2 separate regions of the Homo sapiens genome follow, and region 2 is linked to region 1. Evidence: promoter capture Hi-C in human tissues and cell types (Jung and others, 2019). All regions are on one chromosome and are shown on one strand. The core of a region is centred on a gene start or on the middle of the fragment in contact, and the rest is flanking DNA. Distances in the headings are between cores, read along the strand shown. Region 1 holds the start of ACO1 (aconitase 1). Region 2 overlaps RIGI (RNA sensor RIG-I).

Region 1 (3,656 bases), core at 602-3,101:
GAAGGTCAGAAAGTTAACTAAGACCAATGACAGAGACATAGCAGGCTTCAGCTAGAAGTGGCAGGCAGTCTGCATACTGAGAAAATAGATGAAGAAAAACTCAGCAAATGGAGAAACATATAAAGCAAGAGGAGAGAGTGTAGGGAAAGACCTTAAAAAAGAGGGACAAAAGAGGGAAGAGGTGACTCCTAAGAGCGGAGGGCTGAAAAGCCAAAAGGAGGTTAACATTTCTAGGAAAACGAATCGCCAGTGTCAAATACCACAGAGTAGTGAGTAAGGACAGGAACAGAGGACAGGCCCTGGGATTCACGATCTGCACGTCACTGGTGACAACGTCCAAGAGCAACAGACTGGGGGGATGTGGAACTATTTCCTTCACGGTTTTGACCAGCGTGCTTACTAATAAATCTCAATTCCCTTCATAGCTCTGATTTGATTGTTTTCTGCGAAGGATTCTCAGTTACACGGATGTTATCATTGAACATTAGATACTTTGCTTTCCGAATGGCTGCCTCATTAAGAATCGCAATTTAGCTGGATGTGTCCTCATCGGACTTCCCCAGCCTTCTACTCACTCTCACCTTGCCCCTACTCTCCCTACCTCCCAAGGGGACTGGAGCATGATTTTTCAGGGATTGTGGTGCACCTCTGCCATATGGTGGACATTCAAAGAAAATTTAATTACTAATGTGAATGGAAAGGATTTAGGAAGTGGGTGGGAAAACAGTCTCCTCTCATATTGGAAATACAGTTACTTCCCCTTTCAAAATAAATATAAGTATTTATATTTCAAAGTTAAATATAACTAGACGATAGTTGTACCCTATAGTGCAGTATGACAGGGAAGGTGTAGGCTTTGGTGTCAAACCAACCTAAGGACTGAGTCTCAGCTGTTGCGCATTGCACACCTGCAAAGACGGGTAATATTCTTTACTTGTAAGGTGGTTGGAAGAGCTGAACTGAATAACGTGGAAAGAGTCGATCACAGGGCTTTGTGCAGAATAGGAGGGCAGTATAAAGTAGCAGGGGGGCTATTAGTACTGGCTATTGTTTACTCATCCTATAAGCTGCTTATTCAGAAAACTACAGTAACTTTCCAAATAATTTGGGCAGGAAAACCTCACCACCTTTCATCTAGAAAGATCTAATCACTTCTTTGAACGCCATTCACCCAAGAGGGCACAACTCCTACCAACATGAAAAGCAGATCTTGTGAAAGCCCACTTGCTGCCATCTCCCAGCCATTTCTCCGACTTCAGACCGGTGAACATCGTGCATTAGAAAGTGTTGTTACATGTCCAAGGAAATCTACATATAGAACTTTTGCCACGGAAATGCTGAAGTCCTATTCTGACAGCGTGACTCCGATGTCCACTTGGCAGGCTTTGCGCAAAGAATTAAGGCGAGGGTGGAGAGGGTGGGTAGGGTGGGGACGGACAAAGTGAGAAGGGAGGCGGGCCAAGTGACCACACGTACATGAAGCCTCTCCAGTTATGGCCAAATCATTTTTTAAAAATAATTCCATTTCTTCCCCACCCTTTGGTCACTTCCTAACGCCGGCTGGGGAGTCACATGCTAAGCTCCAAAGTGAGCAACAGACACCCTCGTCCCAGGTCCCATGCTGGCAGAAGCGGACCCGGGCCGAGGGATCAGCCCTCCCACTTCCAGCGGAGGAGCCCTTCGCAACCCTAGCCTCCAGCCCGGGGCGAAGTCCTCCAGGCCCGCGGGGGCGCCCGCAGGCTCCGCCCCTTCTTCGGCTAGCTGCCCGTCCGTCCCGCCCCTGCTCCGCCCTTCCCGCCCCTGCTCCGCCCATCGCGCGGCGGCCCCGGGGGCGAGAGGGGGCGGAGCGTGGAGGCGGCAGCTGGAACCGCGCAGCGCACGGGAACGCGTCCCGCTGCTTGGGTCAGGTTCGCCGGTCGCGGGAGCCCCGCCGTGCAGTCGGAGGTGAGTACCGACGCGGCCCGACCCACGTCCCCAGGCGGGAGCGCCGTCCACCCTGTATCCCTCGAGAGTCGGTGCGGGCCTTTACCGAGGTGCCCGAGGCAGTGGCGGCACGGGGGACACGGAGGCGAGCTTGGGGAGGCTGAGAGGAGAATCGGGGACGTGTTTCTGGCGACTGACGTCTCCACCCTGTCCCCAGTCTATGTCATGCCGGGGAGAGAAACCAGGGATTGGAAGTGGCTTTCCTAGACCCTTCTTAGCCTTGGCTGTGCGTGCTGTCCTGAAAGTCCTTGCCTAGGGTGTGCGGCCAGTCCTGGGAGTCCTAACCCCGAGGGTGTGAGGCCCGCACTGGGAGTCCTCGCCCAGGCCCGGCTGGCTGGATAGGGAAACCCTTGCTAAAGTTGTGCGGGCAGATCCGGGAATCCACTCCAAGGGGTAAAGGGAAAATGGGATGAGGGGGAAGAGACCCTTCGTGGGAGGCTTGAACACAGAGCCCACCATGATAGATTCAGAGATCTAGAAAGGAGCTTGGGCTGCAGTTATGACCAAGTCATTTTTTTCTAGATTCAGCTAGCACATCATAATGGCATCTTCCTTCTTGCAACACATGTAACTCTCTTCCCTGGGGGACAACCTCTAGGACAGAAGTCCCCAAACTTTTCTGGTACTCAGTACTCCTTTACACTCTTAAAAATTAGTATCTTAAGGAGCTTTTATGTGTGTTATATCTATCCATATTTATAATATGTAAGTAAGACTGAGAAATTTGTACTATAATAATTCATTTAAAAAGAATAGTGAACTAATTATATCTTAACATTGCCTATTTTTATGAAAAAGAACTATATTTCCCAAAACAGAAAATGATTGAGAAGAGTGGCATTGTTTTACATTTTTGCAAATCTCTTTGATGTCAAGCGTAATTGAAGACAGCTGGATTCTGATAGCTGCTTCTGCAGTCTGTTGCAATATCACATATCATGTAGCCTCTTGAGACCTCCACTGTATACTCCTGAAAATGTGTGAATGAAAAAAAGCAAGTAACATTTTATTACTAGGAAAATGGTTTTGACTTTGGAGATCCCTAGGAGTTCTCTGCACCACACTTTGAGGATGCTGGTGTAGGAAATGCTTCAGAGGCTTCATTCATTGGGCCTGCTTCTTGTTTGTGATCCTTCCTCTGATTGGGAACACACACCACCTCATGCCATGGACAGTATTAACCTCTGGTATCTGGAACCAAGTTTGATCTCACTTTGGAAACCATGTACTAGGTCCCCACGTGAGGCTGTGATGAACCTTGCCAGCCTCCTGAAAAGTCAGCAAGGCTTCGCACATGCCTTTGGTTGTCTCTGTGCTTGCAGAGCTGACCTGTCTGTGCATCAGGATTACAACAGTGATGTGGCAAACAGGACCTGTAGGCTCACAAAAGTGCCAGTGGGGAGACCATGCCAAGTGTGTAGGGGTTCCTGTGAGAGTTACCAAGTAGTCAGGAAGTTATTTCCAAAAGAACAAGGAGGCATGCTTTTGCCTTCCCTTGCACGTGTTCATTTCTGTTTGCAGTTGCATGGTTATTAGCCTTGAGTTTATTGGAATAATGATTTCCAGTCTTGACGTTCTTTCACTTTCCACTTTCAGAGGGTGTCACTCTGAGTGGTGCTTCCTCAGCCCCTGTCAAAAAGCAGTTTCCACCATCCTGGAGTGTGGTAGGTGAG
Region 2 (4,049 bases), core at 341-2,840, 120 kb after region 1:
TTAAGTATAATTCTTGCTTTCTTTACGTATGCATTTATTTAATATATATTTGTCCCTTCTTTATCTCTTTTTTATTTATTTATTATTTATGAGACAGGGTCTTGTTCCATTGCCCAAGCAGAAGTACAGTAGCATGATCATAGCTCACCATAGGCTCAATTTTCGGGGCTCAAGCAATCCTCCCACCTCAGGTTCCCAAAGTGCTGGAATTACAGGCATGAGCTGCCAAGTCTGGCCCCCATTTTTATTTTTTATGTTATTAGACTTTACATGGGTCTCTGGCAGATGACCAAAACCTGGATTCTGCTTTCTGACTCATTCACACCTATTTAAAAGATGTTTGACCTAATTACATGGCCATAGCTGATATAACTAGTTTTCCTTGTGTTATCTTGTTTATATTTCCCTTTCCTATATTTTCTGGTTAGCTTAAATTACTAGTTTCTTTTCTCCTCTCAAGAACAACAAAACATATAAAACCTCATTTAAATGGTATCATTATCTGTAACCATTCATATAGCTTTTTAAAACTACAGAAGCAAGTGGAAAATGGTAATATTTTAAGTCTCCCCCTTTTGAGGCAAGGGATTTAACTCTTATTTATCATAATTTTCCCTAGCTCCTAACAGACTCAATCTAAAATTTTAAACCAAAGTATTTACTTAATTTTTTTTTTTTTTTTTTTACTATATGAAAATCCTCTCTTAAAAAATGCTTGACTAGGAACCAGGGCAAGATGGCCAAAAAAGGAACAGCTCCGGTCTGCAGCTCACAGAGAGATCAACACAGAAGGCGGGTGATTTCTGCATTTCCAACAGAGGTACCCGGTTCACCTCACTGGGACTGGATAGACAGTGGGTGCAGCCCACAGACAGCGAGCTGAAGCAGGGTAGGGTGTCACCTCACCTGGGAAGCACAAGGGGTCTGGGAACTCCCTCCCCTAGCCAAGGGAAGCCATGAGGGACTGTGCCATGAGGAACAGTGCACCCTGGCCCAGATACTATGCTTTTCCCCCCAAGTCTTCGCAACCAGCAGACCAGGAGATTCCCTCCGGTGCCTATGCCACCAGGGATCTGGGTTTCAAGCACAAATCTGGGTGGCCATTTGGGCAGACACTGAGCTAGCTGCAGTTTTTTTTTTCATACCTCAGTGACACCTGGAATGCCAGCAAGACAGAACCATTCACTCTCCTGGAAAGGGGGCTGAAGCCAGGGAGCCAAGTGGTCTAGCACAGCAAATCCCACCCCTACAGAGCCCAGCAAGCTAAAATCCACTAGCTTGAAATTCTCGCTGCCAGCACAACAATCTGAAGTTGACCTGGGATGCTCAAGCTTGGTTGGGGGAGGGGCATCCACAATTACTGAGGCTTGAGTAGGCCCTATTCCCCTCACAGTGTAAACAAAGCCACCAGGAAGTTCAAACTGGGTAGACCCTACTGCAGCTTGGCAAAGCCACTATAGCTAGACTGCCTCTCTAGATTCCTCACTCTAGGCAGGGCATCTCTGAAAAAAAGCCAGCAGCCCCACTCAGGGGCTTACAGATAAAACTCCCATTTCCCTGGGAGAGGGCACCTGGGGAAAAGGGCAGCTGTGGGCACAGCTTCAGCAGACTTAAATGTTGCTGCCTGCTGGCTCTGAAGAGAGCAACAGATCTCCCAGCACAGTGCTTGAGCTCTGCTAACGGACAGACTGCCTCCTTAAGTGGGTCCCTGATACCTGTGCCTCCTGGTGGGGAGACACCTCCTACCAGGGTCAACAGACACCTCATACAGGAGAGCTCCAGCTGGCATCTGGCAGGTGCCCCTCTGGGAGGAAGCTTCCAAAGGAAGGAACAGGCAGCAATCTTTGCTGTTCTGCAGCCTCCACTGGTGATACCCAGGCAAACAGGGTCTGGAGTGGACATCCAGCAAACTCCAGCAGACCTGCAGCTGAGGGGCCTGTTAGAAGGAAAACTAACAAACAGGAATATCATCAATATCAACGAAAAGGACATCCACACAGATAACTCATCTGAAGGTCACCAACATGAAAGACCAAGGGCAGATAAATCCATGAAGATGAGGAAACGCCAGTGCAAAAAGGCAGAAAAAAAATGTGATCCTCTTCTCCTCCAAAGGATCACAACTCCTTGCCAGCAACGGAACAAAACTGGACGGAGAATGAGTTTGACAAATTGACAGAAGTAGGCTTCAGAAGGTGGGTAATAAGAAACTCCTCTGAGCTAAAGGAGCATGTTCTAACCCAATGCAAGGAAGCTACAAACCTTGAAAAAAGGTTAGAGGAGTGACAACTAGAATAACCAGTTTAGAGAAGGACCTGAATGACCTGATGTAGCCAAAAAACACAGCACGAGAACTTTGTGAAGCATACACAACTATCAATAGCTGAATCAATCAAGCAGAAGAAAGGATATCAGAGATTGAAGATGAATTTAATGAAATAAAGCATGAAGACAAGATTAGAGAAAAAAAGAATGAAAAGGAATGAACAAAGCTTCCAAGAAATATGGGACTATGTGAAAAGACCAAACCTATGTTTGATTGGTGTACCCGAAAGTGACGGGGAGAATGGAACCAAGTTGGAAAACTCTCGTCAGGATGTTATCCAGGAGAACGTCCCCAACCTAGCAATACAGGCCAACATTCAAATTCAGGAAATACAGAGAACACCACAAAGATACTCCTCGAGAAGAACAACCCCAAGACACATAATCATCAGATTCACCAAGGTTGAAATGGAGGAAAAATGTTAGGTGCAGCCAGAGAGAAAGGTTGAGTTACTCACAAAGGGAAGCCCATCAGACTAACAGCAGATCTCTCTGTAGAAACCCTACAAGCCAGAAGAGAGTGGGGGCCAATATTCAACATTCTTAAAGACAAGAATTTTCAACCCAGAATTTCATATACAGCCAAACTAAGATTTATAAGCAAAGAAGAAATAAAATCCTTTACAGACAAGCAAATGCTGAGAGATTTTGTCACCACCAGGCCTGCCTTACAAGAGCTCCTGAAGGAAGCACTAAATATGGAAAGGAAAACTGGTACCAGCCACTGCAAAAACATACCAAATTGTAAAGACCATCGACACTATGAAGAAACTGCATCAACTAACAGGCAAAATAACCAGCTAGCATCATAATGACAGGATCAAATTCACACATAACAATATTAACCTTAAGTGTGAATGGGCTAAATGCCCCAATTAAAAGACACAGACTGGCAAATTGGATAAAGAGTCAAGACCCATTGGTGTGCTGTATTCAGGAGACCCATCTCACATGTAAAGACACACATAGGCTCAAAATACAGGGATGGAGGAAGATTTACCAAGCAAATGGAAAGAAAAAAAAAAAGCAGGGGTTGCAATCCCAGTCTCTGATAAAACAGATTTTAAACCAACAAAGATCAAAAAAGAGAAAGAAGGGCATTATATAATAGTAAAGGGATCAATGCAACAAGAAGAGCTAACTATGCTAAATACATATGCACCCAATACAGGAATACCCAGATTCATAAAGCAAGTTCTTACAGACCTACAAAGAGACTTAGACTCCCACACAATAATAGTGGGAGACTTTAACACCCCACTGTCAATAATAGATCAACAAAACAGAAAATTAACAAGAATATTCAGGACTTGAACTCAGCTCTGGACAAAGCTGACCTAGTAGACATCTACAGAACTCTCCACCCCAGATGAATAGAATATACATTCTTCTCAGCACCACATCATACTTATTCTAAAATTGACCACATAATAGGAAATAAAACACTCCTCAGCAAATGCAAAAGAACGGAAATCATAACAGTCTGTCAGAACACAGTGCAATCAAATTAGAACTGAGGATTAAGAAACTCACTCAAAACTGCACAACTACATGGAAACTGAACAACCTGCTCCTGAATGACTACAGGGTAAATATGAAATGAAGGCAGAAATAAATAAGTTCTTTGAAACCAATGAGAACAAAGACACAACGTACCAGAATCTCTGGGACACATTTAAAGCAGTGTGTAGATGGAAATTTATAGCACTAAATGCCCACAGGAG

The links. Contacts are between HindIII fragments. The study calls those that stand out against the background at their distance.
Region 2: a fragment that was not itself captured here is called in contact with the fragment with the promoter of ACO1 in region 1 in 7 of the 25 tissues and cell types used here (H1 embryonic stem cells, adrenal gland, heart right ventricle and 4 more).

What each region holds. Positions count from the first base shown.
Region 1 is chr9:32,382,792-32,386,447 of GRCh38, forward strand. ACO1 (aconitase 1) reads left to right here and starts at 1,852. Exons shown (of 21, transcript NM_002197.3): 1 at 1,852-1,944. RefSeq lists a silencer at 1,653-2,032. The HindIII fragment of the contact is 21,386 bases long and covers 1-3,656 here.
Region 2 is chr9:32,507,574-32,511,622 of GRCh38, forward strand. All of the region lies in intron 1 of RIGI (RNA sensor RIG-I), which reads right to left. Among named protein-coding and RNA genes, the nearest start is that of RIGI, 17 kb to the right of the region's middle. RefSeq lists enhancers at 507-1,225, 1,226-1,942. The HindIII fragment of the contact is 4,098 bases long and covers 1-3,639 here.